Linked DNA regions of Homo sapiens: all the other regions are linked to region 1. Evidence: promoter capture Hi-C in 16 types of primary human blood cells and fetal thymus (Javierre and others, 2016). All regions are on one chromosome and are shown on one strand. The core of a region is centred on a gene start or on the middle of the fragment in contact, and the rest is flanking DNA. Distances in the headings are between cores, read along the strand shown. Region 1 holds the start of CWC15 (CWC15 spliceosome associated protein). Region 2 holds the start of CEP295 (centrosomal protein 295). Region 3 has its middle 38 kb from the start of JRKL. Region 4 holds the start of MED17 (mediator complex subunit 17). Region 5 overlaps JRKL-AS1 (JRKL antisense RNA 1). Region 6 holds the start of TAF1D (TATA-box binding protein associated factor, RNA polymerase I subunit D).

Region 1 (3,068 bases), core at 238-2,737:
TGTATGAGAGGGTAGGTCTCTGCTTGAATACTGCTTTGAAAGTTGGCTCAAATCACCTTCTCCTTTTCCCCTTCCACCTCTGGCAGGTTCAAAGGTTGGCCTGGCTGCTGTTGTCATCTTTTATGCTTTGAAGAAAAATATAATCAAGTTATTTCCAACATTACAAACACTCATTTTATAGAGTATTAATCAATATCCATACTGGTAAAATAAGTTCTAAAACTCATTCCCCAAAACCTGCTTAATCTTCTTAAACAAAAGTTTTCAAGAAAACAAATTATGAGGCTTAGGCTGTACAAGGAATATGGCTTCTCAGGCTTGCCTTAGTACAAAAAATTCTGTCATGAAGATCTGAGTTTGCATCCCTATTCTCCTTCTGACTATATGGGCTTGAGCAAGTCACCTGGCTTAACTTTGTCATCTGTGGAATGGAGATATTCCTCATAGATTATAAGAATTATGACACTTGACATGTCAAAACCCTAGTAAAATACAGTACTGCCATGACTGAGTTTTAAAAATTTCCAACTCAACCTTACTCTACCAGACTCTGTAAGGTTTGCATTTTATCTAAACTTCACACAATAGCAAATAGGCTAGTAGAAACAAAAGCTAAAAACAAACAAAAAATATCACTGACAAAGTTACTAAATGTCCCAGAGAAAAGTGTGTTAAACTTCAATGACAGTTACACAGAAAAAAATTCTTAAACAACCGTTTGTTGAGCCAATTTTCTCCTACAACAGGCATCATACTATAAATTAGATCGTTTGTGGGTTATAATTTAAGGCCTGTTCAAAAAAAACAGGAACCTCACCCCCAGAGGATTCTGATGCCAAAAATCAGGGACTCATTCCTCAAGTTACTTTCTGCTTGGAGCAGTCACAAGAATACTGTGCAGCAGATGCAGTCACTAAAACCCTGTTAGTGTCGGAAAAGCAAGTGTGTGGGGAGGGTGGGCGAATTGGGAGGATTTTTTGGGGGGGGGGCGATGCTAATTCTCTCAACTTTCAAAAAGGGTAGAGACATGTATACAAAGAAGAAAACAGGGTTATCTGGCGCTGGGGGCGCCGCCCCTTCCCACACACCCACGGAATTATCACTCCGGCCTCCCGTGAGCTAGTCTTTGGCTATAACCAGAAACTCGCTGCCTCTTCACCCGTGCCCAGCACTGCAGGGGTGCGAAGGGTAGTGAAGGGAGGACCTGGGGTTCGCTTTACGCAGTAGGCGAGCTGCCTGTACGCTGCGATCTCCTCGGCGGGCCCAAGAGCTCCAGACGCGCCTGACAGGCACTCGGTTCCGCCCCTAGCCCGCTGCTCCAGGGCCTCCACCGCCCGCGCTCTGCACTCTGCCGCCGACTCCGACCCCAACTGCCCTTTCCCGTCCCATCGCGATAAGAAAGATAATCTCCTATCCTCTTGCCGCTCACACTGGCCGAGGTCCGATGCAGCAGGCTCCGAAGATCATACAGACGCCATTACCACTCTTGGCTCCCAGAAACCTCTGCGCCCAGAGCTAGCGCCTACGACCCGGAAGCAAAATCCAAGCGCTTCGGGGGCGGAAGCAACGACCAATCCGCAGTGGCCGAAGTGGAAGTCGGCGTAACGGCACTAAGGGGCGGGGCCGAAGCGGCCCAGGGGGCGGGCGTTTGAAATCAGTGCCTTAGAGTAGACCCTAAACCTCATTTTATACCTTCAAGAACCAATTACTTAATGTCTCTTCCGTCTTTTCCGTCCCCGACCCCCTCCCAGACTCCTTCATTCCGGTACTGCGTGGACGGAAAGCCCCGGGTAGCCGACACCACGTCCCCGGCTAGCGGGAGAGAGCGTGGAAAAGGATTACACCAAACTGTTTAAATCCAACGACTCCTGCTTCCATCCTTTCTCCTGAGCTAGAACCAACAAACCTAGAGAGTTGGGCTTCGGAAAAACTAGTGTTTTCATTTAATTGGATATGAAGAAAGAACAAATATGTACGGGGCAACCACGATCTTTACAAAGGTACCATTCCTGCAAAAATATTAACACTTCAAAGCAAAGGTTGTATTCGTAATGTTTGCTAAAATTTCTTATTTAAAAAACGTTAGTTTTAGTGGGAGGGGAGATGTCAGTATTTACGAGAGCGTTTACAATGGTGGGCCCAACTACCAGGAGCACAAGATGTAATTATTAAGATGGCTACTTAAGTGTTAAGTTTTAATAAGACAACGAAAAGTAGAAAACCCGAAAACCAAAAACCTACCAGTCGTCTCTCCTCCCTTCCATAAAAACAAATTCTGAGAATAGAGATCTTGGTTGTTTAGCTCATCTTGGTATCTCATCACATAGACCTTGACGTATAGTAGCTGCTCAATTAATATTTGTTAAACAAATGAAAATTCAACTTCCCCAACTTAGTTTAAAATGTAAGGAACTCACAAAATTGAATATTTAAATGCTTTCTTACCCCTAAATTCTTTGCAACTTTTTAATGAAGAAAGAAAAGCAGAAAAAGCCCTTTCAGTCATAGAGTTCAAGATGAAAATCCTGATTTTTCTTACCGAAGGTATCCCTCCTCCAGTCTTAACAAGTCTCACTAAAAGACGCGATCATCATGCTAGTTACTCAAACCAAAATCCCGGAGTGCCTACTTAAATTCCTTTTCATTCACTCTTCACATACGGTTCATTTACAGGTCTTAACAATTCTACTTTTAAAACTCACCCGCAATTTTATTCTACTGCCACTACCCTTGCCTTTGCCAACACCATCTCCTACCTGGATTGTAATTGCTTCCTATTATATCTTCCTGCGTCATCTTTTATCCTACAGTCAGTGTTGCATATAGCCAAGAGAGTGATCTTTTAAAATTAATAAAATGGTGTTACTATCCTGTGTACAATTTCACTGCACTTAGAATAAAAATCACATTTCTTAATGTGACCTGAGACCCCACGGAGTCTGGTTCCTGCCTACCTTCCAGACTTCACTTCCAATCAGTCACTCGCTTACGCACTAAGCTCTAGACACAGCCAAGTGGGCATTTCTGTTTTATAAAACAGGGCAAGATTCCTTCTATTTTAGGGCCTT
Region 2 (3,209 bases), core at 664-3,163, 1.3 Mb before region 1:
CCCTAATATTTGGGAAGGAAACGTGAATTCTAGTCCTGGTTCACCCTTGACTGAAATGTGCCCTTGGCCAAGTTGCTGAATCTCTCTGTAACTCAGTATCCTGATCTGTAAATCTGAGGTGGAATCACACTATTTCTTCCTGTACCTTCCTTCCTCCTACTCCATCCCTTTAAGTTTTGGTGTTCCTCGGAGTTTGGTTCTTTGCTCATTGCTCTTCTCACTCTGCAAATTCTCCCTAAGTGATCTCATCCATTCCGCTAGCGTTTGTTATTACTCATGTAACAAGGAAATCCCTTTATGCTTAGCCTAGTTCTTTCTGTGGGCTATCTACCGATGTATTCATCTGCTTACAGTACATCACTGGATGTTCTACAGGCACATGAAGTTCAATATACACAGAGCTTGGCTCATCACCCTACCCACTTAACTGCCATTTCTGATTTCTCCCTTTACAATCAAGAATCAACACTGCTACCCAAGCTAGTGGCCTATGAAATCAACTTCACTTTCCCTTTTCTCTCAATCTCACATGCAATTGTTTGTCAAGTACTGCTAATTTTGTGTCCTAAGTTTCTGAAATGCATCCCTTTGTCTAGATATCTCATAAACAGCTCAAATTCAAAATATTCAAAGCTTAACTTATTACTTCTCCCTCCTGGTTCTCTTCATGTGTGTTCCAGGAGGATGTTATCACTATCTACCCAGGTGCTAGGTATCTGGGACTTGGGCATCACCCTTGTTTTCTCCTCTTGTGCCTCCCATAACCAGGTAACCACCAATTCCTGATGTTTGGCTTCCTATTCAATCTACTCACCTCTCTCCATTCTCATTGCTATTATCTTTCACTTTCTGTAGTAGTATACGGCCTTCTGTCTTCACTCTCTCTGACCTTTTCCCCACTGTGCAGCCAGATCTGATCGTGTCAGCAACTTCCCATCCCCACCCCCCATTTTTAATCCTTTGATTCCTGATGTTTAACCCCCATGACCCAGACTGCAAAATCTAGTATAGGCATCATAATCCATCCAGAGTAACATAATGTACTCGGCACATAACAGATACTCAATAGGTATTAACCTGTGCTCACCGCCTGATTATTGGTTATTTACAGCAGATAAATCCGTGAGGTGCTCTCCGTGCGCTGTACCTCTGGAGGCACAGGGTAACATACGGCTCATTGTTGTTATGAGCTGGAGGCCTTAAATGAAAGCTATAAGACGTTAACTGCGCATAATAGTACCAATGAATTCCGTAGTCAGTACAGAAAAGGATGCATATCCCAAGATATCTTCATGATGGGGCCTTAAAACAAAAGTCACCCTCATGGCTCTGCACTTTTTTTTTTTTTTTTTAGACAGGCTTTGGCTCTGTCGCCCAGGCTGGAGTGCAGTACTGGCGGGATCTCGGCTCACTGCAACCTCCACCTCCTGGGTTCAAGCGATTCTCCTGCCTCAGCCTCCCGAGTAGCTGGGATTACAGGCGCCCACCACCACGCACGGCTAATTTTTGCTGTTGTCGTATTTTTTGTAAAGATGAGGTTTCACCATGTTTTTAAAAGGACTTGGTCTTGAACTCATAACCAAAAATACATAACCTCGAACTCTTGGGCTCAAGTGATCCTCCCGCCTTGGCCTCCCAAAGTGCTGGGATTACAGGCGCGAGCCACCGAGCGCGGCCCATACGGGAAAACGTCAAAGCCTGACAGGTGTGACAAATAATGGGCCCCTAGGCAGGCTGGGGCTGGCGCGTGCCTGTGCGCGTGCGCGGGGCGCGGGGTTTTTAACACCGCGCAGCCTTCCCGGCGGCCCCCGAGGAAGGCGGGACAGGGCCTATTCCCGCGGTTTGGTCCGGCCATTGGCGGGCGGTTTGAATGACGGAAGTGACGGCGGCTCGGCGATGGCTCTCCCGCAGGCGCAGAAACGGCTGCTGGGCAGCTGATGGGCAGGAGCTTACCAGGCTGGCTTGCTCTGAGCTGCGGTTACTGTGTCCAGGCCCCGGGTTCTCAGGTGAGTCAGGGATGCACTGGCTTCCCAGTCGCCCCGTAGGAGCATGACTCCCCGAGGCCCAAGAGCTGGGATTGTATTCCGGAGGAATGGGATCCCAGGAAGGCGCCTTGTTGCGAACGCAGGTACGGCTCGCGTTTCTCAGGCTCCGCAGGCCGTGGGCCCTGCCCGCGGTCGGGCTGGCGGCTGTAAGGAGTGTCCGGACCAGACCCGGTAACTCAGTGCGAGAGGCTTTGCGCGCTCTCCTGGGGTCGGGTCGCGCGAGCTTCCCACGCAGCCTCCCCTGTCGCGGAGCTTCCGTGTCGGGGGAGGGGCGCTTCCCCCAGATCACCCGCGGACATGGCCTGCCACCTGGTAGCTGTTAAAAGAGCCTTGCCTGGATCGTTTCATGCAAAGAGCACGCTCTCTTTTGGTGTCTGCCACCTTAATCTCACAGTTATTCAATCCTGTCACAAACTCAACTTTTAAAACAATGGTGAACTTTTGAGTCCTTAATACTTAGAGTGTATTTGAAGACTTCACGCTAAGTCACATAGACGTCAGAACAAACCTTTTGGGGTAGATATTATTATTCCCTTTATACAGTTTAAGAAAACGAAACCAAAGTGACTTCAGTGACTTGGCCAGTATCTTCCTGCTAATAAGTGGCAGTGTTGGGTCTTGAACCCAGATCTTCCAAGTTTAGTGTTAATTTTGTGATTACTATGTACCAGGAGCCATTTAATCCTCAGGACGAAATCTTGCAAGATAAGTAGTATAATCTTCAATATTGGATAGTAATAAAATGTAGAATTTAAAAATCCATATTACTAAGAATAAATAATTAATAAACAAGTAAATGGGGCAGCAGGGAAAACTTCCTTACAGCAGGATTCCGATTGATAATTGTAGAAGGAATAATGGAAATAGAAAATACTATTTGGTAAACACCACAGTAGTTGTTTCAGACAACAGTCATCAATGGATACTAACGTCAATGGGCAAAAGTATGATGAAAAGCATATTTCTGTAGCCTCTACTCTGTCTTCATGAGATATTTATAAAGGAAAAGTAGTAACTACAGAGGAGAAACCTGGTGGACATCATCTTAACCAAGTGACCAAAATTCAGCATCATTTACCTCTTGATAACAATGCACTGAAAAGGTGCCTAATCAATTCTGTGGTGTTCTTGCCAAAAATACATAACCTCAGTTTAATCACATAA
Region 3 (3,074 bases), core at 175-2,674, 1.5 Mb after region 1:
CAAGCACCTGCGGAATAAAACACACACACACACGCACACACACACACACGCCCACCATGAAGCTCCGTTCAAAATTCAAATGCATATAATCTGCAGAAAAACAAAGATACACTCATTTTAAAGCGTGTATCCCTGACACATTTTAAAGTGGATATCCCTGTTTCCATTTTGTTTTATAGATGGTTTGATTCTAACTTCATTTGGAAACATAGATGATCTGAAATCTTAATTTTTGAGAAAGAAAACCCAAATTTAGTCTTCAGGAGAGTTTTAAATATCTTGAAACAAAACAGGGGTTGGGATGCGGGAGCAGGGCAATGGGGACATTTAAGATGGAGTAACATCCCCATCTTGTGGTATATCAGAATATTGACTCTTCTTTTTAACACTATTTTGATTTAACATAGTTTTGGGTAAAAACATATCTAACTTGATTATGGGAACACGAGAGAGTAGTGACACAGGAAATTGAATCTGCAATTTCTCAACCCATTAAATTGTTCATCAATGCTGAACTAATACAAGAGTTACATTAATAAGCGGCAGGTTTAATTACTTAGCAGATGGCTGTTCAGTGTTCACCTTAATGTTATCAGACTCAGCAAAAACAAAGAGATGACCCGCATTTGTATCTATCTGTTCTACAATATATTGTCTAGAGGTTTCATTTTTTATTTTATTTTATTATTATTATTTTTGAGACTGAGTCTCGCTCTGTCGCCCAGGCTGGAGTGCAGTGGCGCGATCTGGACTCACTGCAAGCTCCACCTCCTGGGTTCAGGTCATTCTCCTGCCTCAGCCTCCCGAGTAGCTGGGAAGCGCCTGCCGCCACGCCCGGCTAATTTTTTGTATTTTTAGTAGAGATGGGGTTTCACTGTGTTAGCCAGGATGGTCTCGATCTCCTGACCTCGTGATCTGCCCACCTCGGCCTCCGAAAGTGTTGGGATTACAGGCGTGAGCCACCGCGCCCGGCCGAGGTTTCATTTTTAAAAAATGACAAACATTCTTGTTACTTTCTTGCACTTTTTTTTTCTTTCTTTTTCTTTTTCTTTTTCTTCTCTTTTCTTTTCTTTTCTTTTTTTTTTTTTTTGAGACGGAGTTCGCTCTGTTGCCCAGACTGGAGGGCAGTGGCACAATCTCGGCTCACTGCAACCTCTGCCTCCTGGGTTCAAGCGATTCTCCTGCCTCAGCTTCCCAAGTAGCTAGGATTACAGGTGCCCACCACCACGCTCAGCTAACTTTTTGTATTTTTAGTAGAGATGGGGTTTCACCATATTGGTCAGGCTGGTCTCGAACTCCTGACCTCAAATGATCCACCTGCCTAGGCCTCCCAAAGTGCTGGGATTACAGGCGTGAGCCACCACGCCTGACTATTGTCTTGCACTTTCTAATATAACAAAAAGTGAAGACTACTGCCACCACCAAAAACAATGCTTGCTTTGCTATAATCCTTTTCCTCAGACTGAGACACTTTGGCCTATTTAAAATGTGGGTAATGGCTCTAAAAATGCTTGTTTAGGATGCAGATGTATTCTCTATTTTGTCTTCTTTGACATTTTTATGTGGTTTTGGTTCTTTAGCATATGAAGTTTTATTTTTAATCAATCCATGATTTGTCCCTAAGTTGTTCTGATGGGAATATGAGAATACATAAAGGGAATATGAGATACAGCTCCTAGTGACAACATACTTATAGTCTAGTTGAAGACATAGACATGCCTACAAGAATTATAATTTAAAAACAAAACAGTGCGCAAGTTATTTTGATGTGCCACATCAAATTTTGTAGTTCTTTCCATCTTCTGCTTTAGTCACTCAATTCACTTGATAACTCCTTGAGGAGGCATCAACTGGGCATTTACTATTTTCATGATATTGTACTAGGAGCCATGAAGAATAACGAATAAAAGGTGCAGGGAAATATTAAAGCCTTTATAATCTAGTTTGGGTGACTAACCACAAAAATTTTTGGTGCCTACACCTATGTATAATATATTGACATAAATGGAAAGTGTGGGAGTTTTGGGTCTTAAGTGATAGGTCTCTCATTCACATGTTAAACTTATTTTTAAATATAAAGATAAAGAAAATTTAGAAATGACGGAATAAAAATCTGTAACACTGCTTCATTACCAAGTATTTACTATTTTGATGTACAATTGATTTTCCCCCTCATCTCAGGGTTTAGAGTTCTTAAGAACCACTGTGTAGGAGACTATAGCTGAAGCACATAGACCATATTTAGAAATTAGGACAGGATTACCAAGATCTTAACTCTTTTTAAAATTTAGTTAGAAAATATTTAGGAATAACTCTCATGAAAAGGTTCAAGTCTTTCTTGAAGAGAACTACAAAATAAGTAGAGGAACATAAAAGAATCTTGATTAAGTGGATGTTCTTGGGTGTGAAATATTAATATTGTAAAGAAGTAAATTCTCCTCAGATTACTACACAAATAGAATGCAATTCCCATTGGAATCCCAACTTTGCAACGTGGCTCTAAAGTTAATTTTAATAATTAAATTTTAGAGAAGAGCTAAACCTTTTTTTCTGAGGAAAATGAAGAAAGAAGATGAGTAAAGACAAACACAATTAAAATTAAAATCACCTGGTATTGGCAGAGGAAGAGAAAGACAGTTCAATGAGATTAGAAACCCCATAAAAAGTTATATTTAAGAATTTCATATATGATGAAAGTAATATTCTAAATTGGTGAGAAAAGAATGAGTTTGATACAAACTAATTTTGTAACAATTGATCCATCGTTAAAAAAATTTAGATTCTTACCTATTCCATACACCATCCAAATTCCAGATGGGTTAATATTTTAGCTATTAAAAATTGAAATAACAAAATTAATAGAAGAAAATAAATGGTTACATAATCTTAGAAAGGCAGATTTTCCAAGTATGACATCAGAGACAGAAACCAGTAAGCAGAATTTGGTTGATTTTATTGCACACTTATTAATATTGATTGAATAAATCAATATTAAACTACTGATCTTTTTAAAAAGAAAGAAATGAAACCGTGTCAACATATATAGGAAGGCAGTGTATTTTTAACATCTTTCA
Region 4 (3,227 bases), core at 636-3,135, 1.2 Mb before region 1:
GGCTATGTGGCACTAACCTATGACCATGGTTACTTCCAGGATAGTTAGGATGATGTTTTTCAGGTTATGCTTAATCATATATTTGAGTAGTTTGTACTTTGCCAAAACCTGCAAATTTTCCTTATTTATGATCTCATTGGGTTCATCCTGTGTTTCATTGGTATGATCACTTAGCTTCCATCTTCATACCACAACTGAGTGTTGAAGATGTTATTTGGCATATAGAGGTCCTAACCAATTATACCCAAAAGATAGCTACATAAGTATTCCATTATTAAACAATAGTTATTCTTATGGAAAAGGCCATTATTACAAAACCGTATGGCTTTTGACATACTCACCGAAGCCCAGGGAGGAACTTGCATTATCATAAAAACTGTGTGTTATGTCTGTATCCCAGATGAATCAGATAATATCACTACGTTAATGGATAATATGAAAACCTTAACAACTAACCTTTCAGATCCAACACATCTTTAAACAACTGGCTAAGCAGCTAGTTTTGATCTTGAAGACTTGGTGGCAAAAGCTTTGCTTATTCTAGGAATCATAATCATTTGTTGTTGTCTTGTTTTTGTCTGCACTATTAGACTGCCACTGCGCCTGGCTATTAATCAGATTTTAAAATAAAGTTAAAAAAAATTTTTAAACAAATTTACACGAAAAGCAAGTACAGTGGTTCTCGAACATGATTGGGCGACAGACTGTACAGCTTGCCAGAAATAGGTTTCTCTCATGAAAATTCAACCCCCTCCACACACGGCCATCTACTTTCTTCTTCAGCAGGGACTGACACCAGGGCAACCGTATTTTCCTAAATACCTTAGGAAAGTAGTTCAAAACCTAGATATATCTTGGTCAGAACAAAACCTGGCAAACACTCATGATAAACGGTATATATAATTCCTTAAACGAAATATAGAGGTTTGTAATATAAAATAATCCATCTTTGTCTGTGGAATTCCTACTAATGAAATACGTTCTTGGAGACCCAAAGACTGAAGTTATACCACTTCTTCTTAATCTTTTAAATATTATTTGCAGGCCAGGCATGGTGACACGCTCCTATAGTCCCAGCTCCTCAGGAGGCTAAGGCAGGAGCATCGTTGGAGCCCAGGAGCTCCAGGCTGTAGCGTGCTGACAGCACTTGTGAATAACCTCTGCACTCAGCCTGGGCAACATAGTGGGACCCCATCACTAATAAAAAAGCGAGATCAACATTATTTATTCTGTTACTCGGGCATAAAATAAATATTAAGCACTTACTACATGCCAGAGTCTATTATGTCTGCTGCAGATATTGGCTGTCATAGAGTTATAACTAACAGGAAACCAAATAATTACGTAGTATAATTTTAAGTGGTGATAAGCACGATTGTTTCCCCCAAGCCATGCCCTTAATTTCTAACTCTTCAGATAGTGTTTCTTTAAAAAATTTCTTGCTAATTTAAAATAACTTTTGTTTTGAGGCAGGATCCCACTCTGTTGCTTAGGCTGGAATGCAGCGGTGAGATCTCGGCTCACTGCAGCCTCCATCTCCAGGGCTCAAGCCATTCTCCCGCCTCAGCCACCCGCGTAGCTGGACCACAGGCGCGCGCCACCAGATCTCAGTTCTCTCAACAGGACTCTCATTGCTAAGATCCAAGGATCCATTAATTTCCTTTTCCTTAACTCTTCTAGCCTCTGCAGCTTTCTTTCCTCATCCACTTTTTAAACAAACGCAGGCTTAAAAAGCAAGGAATATACCCGCCACACTCTCGGCTCCCAAACCGCTCTTTCCCTCCCTCTGCCGGCCACGCCTCTTATAGGCCCGGAAGTTTACCCCACCCTGCACCGTGATTCACCGGAAGCGCTCTAGGGAACCCTGGAGCTTCCGCGCCTGCCCAGTTTTGCTCCGAAAGACTTACCGAGGAGGGAGCTTGCGGTGCGTTCTGGGAAAGTTGCTGGGCCAGCTCCTTTGTTTCCAGTCTGAGCGTTGCGTTCGGTTTCCCGAGGGTCTTCTGAGGCACCGCGGCTGCGGGCTTCTGAGTTCCCGGCTCTCCGCAGGGAAGCCTCCTCTTCGTACCTCGTTTTTTGGCTCGTGGGGGGTCCTCCCACCGCTGGCCGACGCAGCCAGCATGTCCGGGGTGCGCGCAGTGCGGATCAGCATCGAATCGGCCTGCGAGAAGCAGGTCCATGAGGTGGGCCTGGATGGCACCGAGACGTACCTGCCCCCGCTGTCCATGTCGCAGAATCTGGCGCGTCTGGCCCAGCGGATAGACTTCAGCCAGGGTTCGGGCTCCGAGGAGGAGGAGGCGGCGGGGACCGAGGGCGACGCGCAGGAGTGGCCGGGCGCCGGGTCCAGCGCAGACCAGGACGACGAGGAAGGTAAGGCCTGCATCCGCTGCCCGAGTCCCCCGGTCTGGGTCCCAGCACCCGCGCGGGCCTCCGCCTCTCCCGCGATGGGGGTGATCTTGTGCGTGCGAGAACTTTTGAGTGTCCCTCTAGCGGAAGCGTAAGGATACTTGGTCGTCATCTTTTTGTTGCTGCCGGACAAGGTAGGACACGACTTTACGTAATACTCCTGCGGGTCTCCTTGAATGGCAGCGTTTAGAGACACTGTCAAACCGTGAAATGTTTAAATGAATGCTTCTCTGTAGAGGGCCTTTAATGTAGCACACTTAGTGGCTAAAAGAGCCCTAGATCGGGGCTCTGCCCCTTGCCGGCTGTGTGACCTTGGGCGAGTTACTTTGCATCCTTGTGCGGTGTGAATGATGATAGTAGCACCTGCAGAAAAGAGGTCTGTTTTGACTGAAATGTGTGACGAGGTCCAAGAGGTAGGCGGGTCCAGATCATGTAGAACCCAGTAGGCCGGGATAAGCGTTTGACTAGTGTTAAGACCACTGAAAGCTTTTGCAGGATAAGTAGAGATGGTTTTGTTAAAGTTTACTCTAGATGCTTTCTAATAAATGAATTATAGGGAAAGCAAAACTGGAAGGGAGGAGACTAGGAGGGAAGTGAAGAAATAATGAGTGGGTTTCAGATTCTCATTATTGTCAAGGATTTTTGAAAAAAAAATCAAAATTCTTAATTTAGTTATGCAGCACACCCAGTGTAAATGGGAATTTAAAGATGTCATTTCAGGGCAGTGCTGTTAGGATTATTAGGGGTCTATTTGCAAAAAAAGGTAAATACTACTTTATACCTCACACAAAAATTATTTCCACAGTAATTTTTGAGGATTGAAG
Region 5 (3,554 bases), core at 926-3,425, 1.5 Mb after region 1:
GGAAATCTTATTATGATCACGGAATCTGGACCCTTGCCTTTGAAGTTTCTATCTCTAAGCAACAGTAGTCAGGCTTCTCCCCATAGCTCTAGGCCTGAGTTTAATACTTCTGTTTTCATCCCTGCCTTTAAAACAATGGATAGGAGGGGAGACATACATATTTCACTTAGCAAATGCATTTATATATACATTTTTAGATTTGAGAGGGTTTTTTTCCTTTTACCATTTTGAAATCCCTGTCAGTAAGAACTTTAATTAAAAACTTGAGTATATTTAATATTTTGAGTATAACCACATTGTTTTAGCTATTTGTGCTGTGAAAGCCAACATTTCAGAATTGAAATGTTTATTTATAGTTTTAAAAAGTCCTTGATTCTGACAAATTTTGTAATTAGATGGGATTTCTTTTACCTTTATGAACAATGCTGTTATATTTTTATATATCCTGTTTCCTTTGAGTTCTGAAAAGGCTTTCTAATATATTTCATTTCTGGTAATTGTATGAATGGATTTTATATATAAACATAAAAATTATTCATAATATTTAAAAATTATTTTTATTATTTTAAAAATTTAAATGGTGTAAACTGCCTTCATTAGGAAAGAAGAAAATGGAGGCAATAGTTTAAATCAGAGACATCAATTAGAGATAAACTTTTTGTGTGTGTGTGTGTGTGAGACAAAGTCTCGCTTTGTAGCCCAGGCGGAGCTTGCAGTGAGCCGAGATCACGCCACTGCACTCCAGCCTGGGCGGCAGAGCAAAACTCTGTCTCAAAAAAAAAGGGGTAAACTAAATTATTCACAAATTGTTTCTGAATTATAACATATTTACTAAAATAATTTTTCGAATTCTTTTTTTGTTGCTAGTTGATTTTGGCTAAATGTTGCAGCAAAAATTAGGTCTTAGGCTTACCATATAGTAGCAACATAAGTAAGAAAAATATAGCTTGCTTTAAGAAACTCCAATATATAAAATATAATCTTCTGATGTATGACACAAATGAAGGAAAGTGTCCAGGTAAAGGAAAGCTTCCTTTAGAAATATCAATCATCTTATTAAGTATATAGTTCTACTAGTGATTTATTTTCCAAAATGTGCTTTTAGCAATTGTATTCATTTTCTATTGATTTCTAATAAATTGCCATAGACTCAGTAGCTTAAAACAATACTCATTTTTTAGTTTACTTCTGTATACAAATTCCAGGCATGGCATTGTTGTGTTCTTTGTTCTGGTTCTCACAGGTTGAAATCAGAGTGTTGGCTGTGCTGTGTTACTTTCTAGAGGTTCTCGGGAACCTCCACTTCCAAGTTTATTCAGGTTGTTGGAAGAATTCAGTTGTTTGTGGTTGTACGACTGAGGTCCCAATTTGTCTCCTGGCTGTCAGCTGGGAACTACTCTCAGATCCTAATCCCAGCCACATTCCTTGCTACATGGCCCCTTCTATCTTCAGAGAGAGCAACGGAGAATCTTTCTCTTAATGAGCTCCCCTCATACTTTGAATCTCTTCTACTCTTGAGGTTTTCACCTGATGAAGTCAGGTCCAACTGAGGGGAATCTCTCTGTCTTAATGGCAACTAATTTGGGACCTTAATTATATATGTATAATCCTTTATAGATTAATAATCACCTAGATTAATGTTTGATCAAATAGAATAACTGGGAGAAAGTTTGTATGCACCAGGGGTGAGAATCTTGGGAGCTGTCTTAGAATGTCTTAGAATTTTGCCTATTACAGCAGCGAAATGTATCATGATTGAATTAAAAAAATTCATTTAAAAATAATAGGATTCTGAATCCAAATGAGAGGTCATTTGGAAGACCTGAAACTATTTTTTACTTATTTTTTATTTATTTATTTATTTTTTTTGAGAAATTCTCACTCTGTCACCCAGGCTGGACTGCAGTGATGTGATCTCGGCTCGCTGCAGCCTCCGCCTCCCAGGTTCAAGTGATTCTCCTGTCACAGCCTCCAGAATAGCTGGGATTACAGGTGTGCACCACCATGCCTGGCTAATTTTTGTATTTTTAGTAGAAACAGAGTTTCACCATGTTGGCTAGGCTGGTCTCGAACCCCTGACCTCAGGTGATCCACCCGCCTCAGCCTCCCAAAATGCTGGGATTACAGGTGTGAACCACCATGGCCAGCTGACTTTAAACTGTTCTAACTGGGAGTTAAAGCCCTCTGTTTCAAATTCCAATGTTGCCGAGGTCTCTCAGGCTGTCAAACCCCAACACCAAGTAATGACACTTGCCTGTGTGACTTCACTCCAACTCCTTTCCGACCAAGACACAAGCATTGCTGCCCTCTGTTTGGCAAGATGATCGCTACAATGTTAACTGTCTTGTGCAAGTTTTCTATCCTGTCAGCCTTCAGCTTGCCGGCGTGGTGTACTTTGGGTGTTTATGATAGCAAAACTTGAGAACCTGTAAGTACAACCTATAAGCACATTCTATAAGCAGAGGAGGGCCCTTATTTGTTTTTTTAACCTCACATATGGTTTTGGCTCCCCCCAGGAAAATGCCCATCATAAGGAAGCATTACCTCTGTTAGCCCCTTCTGGCTCATTGACAGGCTGTCCTCCTCACAGGCAGGAATGCAGTCCCAGTGGCCCAGCTGTACTCGGAATCGACTCTCTTTTTCTCTCCCGAGGCAAAGCTGCAAAAACACTCCTCATGTTCTGCCAGCTACTTAATCCCTTTTTCTCATTTCAAACTTCAATATACTCTTTAAAAAAGGAACCTCACCAAAACCTCCCCTAAAGCTAAGTGGCTCTGCTCCTTGGATCCCAGGGCCCCAGTGAATGTTCATAGCGTTGTCTCCAGTCATTAAGAAAGTGTTAAATCATGTGCCATACACAGTTTAAGCACACAGGGGAGTGTGTAAAACTTTCGTATTTCTAGTTAGGGGTCATTACAGTATAGAATCACTTTGTGCCCAGAGATTCATTCATTTCAGAATTAAGCTCATTAGCAGTCATTGCTTTATTATTGTGTTTCTGCCTCAGTGGTGAGTTGGGGACTGCTGCACTTAAGGGGTCAGCCTGGTTCACCCTTGCTGCACCAGCCGTAGCTATTTGTCCCTGATTCATCAGATCTCAAGTCCGCAATGTGTGCCTTAATGAAGGCTGCATGCAGAGTTCAACTTTGGCTATGCCAGATAGAATAATCCCAACTCTTTTACTTACTCGCCAAAGTCATTTAATATTTCTGTGCTTTGATTTCCTGTCTTACAAGATGCACTCTGAGTGTTACTGGTAGGTAATAACGGCTTATGCGTGTAAGATGTTATTTAAAGCACCGCAGCCTTCTCCATTGAAGGCTAAGCTTGCCGATGCACTTCTCGTCCCCTGGCTCAAGAACTGAGGCAGAGGTGGGTTAGTAGACCGGACTTCTCTTAATTTCTAAATATATCTAGTATCTAACCACTTATCCCCATCACCAGTACCCCTTCCTTTGGTCAATCAAGCTTCTGTTATCCTGAATTATTGTAATAGCTTCCTGCCTCGCCTTCTGGCTTCTTTCCCCATTACCCTGCAGTCTGTCCTATATACG
Region 6 (3,076 bases), core at 406-2,905, 1.2 Mb before region 1:
TGTCATATTGTATCTTTGCCATTATTGGTGGAAACTGACAAGTTCTGAATTCTCAACCTTTTTCAATGAACTATCATAATTCTTGTGTCTTCATCCCCATGGTAGAGAGTATACAACATACCAAAAAAAAAAAAAAAAAAAAAGAAAAAGATTCCTTCTTGTGAGCTAAAAGAAAAAAGAAAAACAGGTTGGTCTGGGTGGCTCAGGCCTGTGTAACACAGCACTTTGGGAGGTCGAGGCGGGCGGATCGCTTGAGCCCAGGAGCTCAAGACCAACCTGGGCAACGTGGTGAAACTCCGTCTCTACAAAAAATACGGAAATTAGCCAGAATAGTGGCGCGCGCCTGTGGTCAGGAGGCTGGGGTAGGTGGAATACCTGAGCCTGGGAGGTGGAGCTTGTATGTAGTGAGCCTCAGCAACACAAGGAGACCCTTGTCTCTACAAAAAATTCTTAAAATACTGGCTAGGTGTGTTGGCCCGTGCCTTTGCTCCCAGCCACTCGGGAGGATCGCTTAAGCCGCGGTGGAGGTTGCTGTTAGCCGAGATTGCACCACTGCACTCCAGCCTGGACGACAGAGCAAGACCCTGTCTCAGGAAAAAAAAAAAAAAAAAAAAAAAAAAAAAAAAAGGCATGGCAACAAAAATTAAAGATAACTACTTATTTCATTATTGTACATGCCTTAGTCAATCTCTTGTCTCATTCTGTAGCTTCTTGGGACCTGACATGAGTCATTACATATAAATCCTAGGATGAACTAGCAAAATATTTAAAATATGAAACGATAAGGTCACCAAGAGCTCAGATTTGTTAAATGCCCCCTGTGGTATTTTCCTGGTACAAGGTCTTACTAGTTTTTTTAAGTACAAGATTCTACAAAGTCATTAAATATCGAATGCTCAAAAACGGAATTCAACAAAAATTTGCCCCCATGCTTTAACGGTATACCTGTAGTTAATTTTTTTTAAAAGTAGGGATTATCAAAATAAAGCTAGCTCAATAATCACTTTTTCGAAGTGTTTAGAAGACACTCCTACTTGGGTGTCGATGCCTCCGTGGGGATTCTGCAATTCTTAGAGGCCACGTGGGCAGAGAGCGGCGCTTTACCCGGAGCTAACGCTGTGACCACCAGCGCCTCTCACCCGGCAGCGCCTAACCTGCAGAAAACCGGCGCGAGTAATGGGTACCTCACATACGAAGGTTAAATCATTTAAATCACGTAATAAGGTTAAACTTGTCCGCAACACGATTTAACACCTCCATCTCAAGATATAATGAAGCCCGTCCACACTACAACCACGTTTGTGTGGGACTCATACCAGCCGCGTGGCGCGGAGTGGCCTGCGGCCGTGATCCCTTCACCCTCTCGGACCGACTTCGGAGTCTCGATCCTCCGGACCAACGAAGGGGCCCCGGGAAACCCCAGATATGCAACGCCTCCCCCGCCCGCCAGGCCCGGACGGCCTCGCCCTCTTAGCAACCTACCTAAAACGGCCTCGCAGTGGCCCCAACCGCGCACTTGCTGCTTGTAACCCAGGCCTCGGCCCAAAACCCGCGACTGGCCTGGTGTCCTAGAGCTCTGTACACACCACCCTCCCGACCTCAGCCCTCCAACTCCCGATAACCAGCCGACCTCCTCCAACCGTGCGGAAGAAAAGGGTTGGCTATTTCCGTGGCCCAAGTAATAGTCAGGCCGAAATCTCGCGATACAACTTAGCTTCCGGGAAGAAGGCGAGCGGTGGGAGGAGACGCGACGTGGGGGCGCCATTTTTCTCGCCGCGCAGGGAGGACTGACTAACGTGGGCGGAGCTCTAGCTCGCGTATTCTGAGGAGGCGGGGTTGGCCTAGGCGAAGATCCGGACTCTGGGTGTTTTGCTACCGTGACCGTTTAGGTGAGTGGAATAGCCAAGAACATTTCGGCAAATAACAAAAACAAAACGTGCGGTCACTTGTGAGTGGATGAGAACTGTGAGGAAACAGCCTCTCAGCCCGGTTCGTTTCCGGTGGTCTCGCGTTTGCTGAGCTGTCGCCTGGCTTTCTAAATCTGGTCCCGGGTGTGTGGCGAGGGTGACGGGTGGGATGTGTGCCTGAGTGTTTTGTAATCCTTTGTCTATTTCTGCCTTCAGAAACCCTTGTGTGTTAAAATATTGGAGAAGGCTCATTCTTTGACCATGACTCGAAGTGTGTAACCTTTGTGCTGGACGCCAGTGTTATTCCATAGCACGCCCAGGTCTCCTCCCCACTTTTGCACCTGTTTCGTAAGCTCACCCTTTCTGCCTCCCAGGAGTTGGCTAACATGTCACAAGTGAGACCTGTGGAGGATTTGTTTTTCCTAAGTTTCCTCCTACATCCCCCCTGCCCCACACCATTAGTTCCTTGACCGGTTCCTGAGTTAAGATTAAACAGTGTAAACTAGTTTAGTTTTGGTGGGGTTTTTTTCTCCCAAAGTAATTTTTTTTTTTTTGAGACCGAGTTTCGCTCTTGTTGCCCAGGCTGGAGTGCAACGGTGCGATCTTGGCTCACCGCAACATCTGCTTCCCGGGTTCAAGCGATTCTCCTGCCTCAGTCTCCCCAGTAGCTGAGATTACAGGCGTGCGCCACCATGCCCAGCTAATTTTTGCATTTTTAGTAGAGGCGGGGGTTTCTCCATGTTGGTCAGGCTGGTCTCAAACTCCCGACCTCAGGTGATCCTCCCGCCTCGGCCTCCCAAAGTAATTTTAAAAAGGAATGAACTGGTTTGATTTTTCCGCTTTCAAAATTCTGTTTTCATATGATAAACCACAAAAATCAGTAAAGCTGTCTAGTCTTATTTTATAGTTCACATTTTAGGATTGAACGGGCCTTAAAAGTAATCTGGTCTCTTTACCTGCTTTGCTCCATAGTTTGGACAATTCCGGGGATAAAAAGTCCGATCCTTTAGGCAGCCCACTGCATTTGATCCACAGGGTCTGGGCAATGACGAAGCTCCAGGACTGGTATGGCATGTCCCTCACTGCCGTATTCAGCAGCAAGCCTAGCTGTGTAATTTGTGAGGCTCAATGCAAAATGAAAATGCAGCGTCCCTTGTTCAAAAAGAAGG

Evidence for each region. Contacts are between HindIII fragments. The CHiCAGO score rates a contact against its expected background, and 5 or more counts as called.
Region 2: a contact is called between the fragment with the promoter of CEP295 here and the fragment with the promoter of CWC15 in region 1, in 1 of 17 cell types (neutrophils). The highest score is 5.5, in neutrophils.
Region 3: a fragment that was not itself captured here is called in contact with the fragment with the promoter of CWC15 in region 1 in 8 of 17 cell types (activated CD4 T cells, naive B cells, non-activated CD4 T cells and 5 more); the score reaches 10.4 in activated CD4 T cells.
Region 4: the fragment with the promoter of MED17 here is called in contact with the fragment with the promoter of CWC15 in region 1 in 1 of 17 cell types (total CD8 T cells); the score reaches 5.2 in total CD8 T cells.
Region 5: a contact is called between a fragment that was not itself captured here and the fragment with the promoter of CWC15 in region 1, in 1 of 17 cell types (activated CD4 T cells). The highest score is 7.1, in activated CD4 T cells.
Region 6: the fragment with the promoter of TAF1D here is called in contact with the fragment with the promoter of CWC15 in region 1 in 1 of 17 cell types (neutrophils); the score reaches 6.6 in neutrophils.

Annotation. Positions count from the first base shown.
Region 1 is chr11:94,972,069-94,975,136 of GRCh38, forward strand. It overlaps CWC15 (CWC15 spliceosome associated protein), which reads right to left and starts at 1,488. Exons shown (of 7, transcript NM_016403.4): 1 at 1,430-1,488; 2 at 1-125. The coding sequence starts at 117. It overlaps KDM4D (lysine demethylase 4D), which reads left to right and starts at 1,641. Exons shown (of 3, transcript NM_018039.3): 1 at 1,641-2,000. RefSeq lists enhancers at 765-1,540, 1,255-1,424, 1,745-1,894. The HindIII fragment of the contact is 9,854 bases long and covers 1-3,068 here.
Region 2 is chr11:93,659,769-93,662,977 of GRCh38, forward strand. It overlaps CEP295 (centrosomal protein 295), which reads left to right and starts at 1,914. Exons shown (of 30, transcript NM_033395.2): 1 at 1,914-2,006. RefSeq lists a silencer at 1,678-1,747 and an enhancer at 1,908-2,037. The HindIII fragment of the contact is 3,556 bases long and covers 632-3,209 here.
Region 3 is chr11:96,426,634-96,429,707 of GRCh38, forward strand. No RefSeq gene overlaps it. Among named protein-coding and RNA genes, the nearest start is that of JRKL, 38 kb to the left of the region's middle. RefSeq lists a silencer at 980-1,192. The HindIII fragment of the contact is 4,059 bases long and covers 1-3,074 here.
Region 4 is chr11:93,782,397-93,785,623 of GRCh38, forward strand. MED17 (mediator complex subunit 17) reads left to right here and starts at 1,886. Exons shown (of 12, transcript NM_004268.5): 1 at 1,886-2,367. The coding sequence starts at 2,118. RefSeq lists enhancers at 1,707-2,001, 1,943-2,162 and silencers at 2,293-2,422, 2,424-2,618. The HindIII fragment of the contact is 2,360 bases long and covers 528-2,887 here.
Region 5 is chr11:96,444,805-96,448,358 of GRCh38, forward strand. It overlaps JRKL-AS1 (JRKL antisense RNA 1), which reads right to left. Exons shown (of 5, transcript NR_047481.2): 3 at 2,545-2,658; 4 at 2,251-2,439. Among named protein-coding and RNA genes, the nearest start is that of JRKL, 57 kb to the left of the region's middle. The HindIII fragment of the contact is 2,297 bases long and covers 1,028-3,324 here.
Region 6 is chr11:93,739,840-93,742,915 of GRCh38, forward strand. It overlaps TAF1D (TATA-box binding protein associated factor, RNA polymerase I subunit D), which reads right to left and starts at 1,656. Exons shown (of 6, transcript NM_024116.4): 1 at 1,483-1,656. It overlaps C11orf54 (chromosome 11 open reading frame 54), which reads left to right and starts at 1,833. Exons shown (of 9, transcript NM_001286069.2): 1 at 1,833-1,889. RefSeq lists enhancers at 1,316-1,825, 1,954-2,639, 2,406-2,525, 3,046-3,076. The HindIII fragment of the contact is 24,379 bases long and covers 1-3,076 here.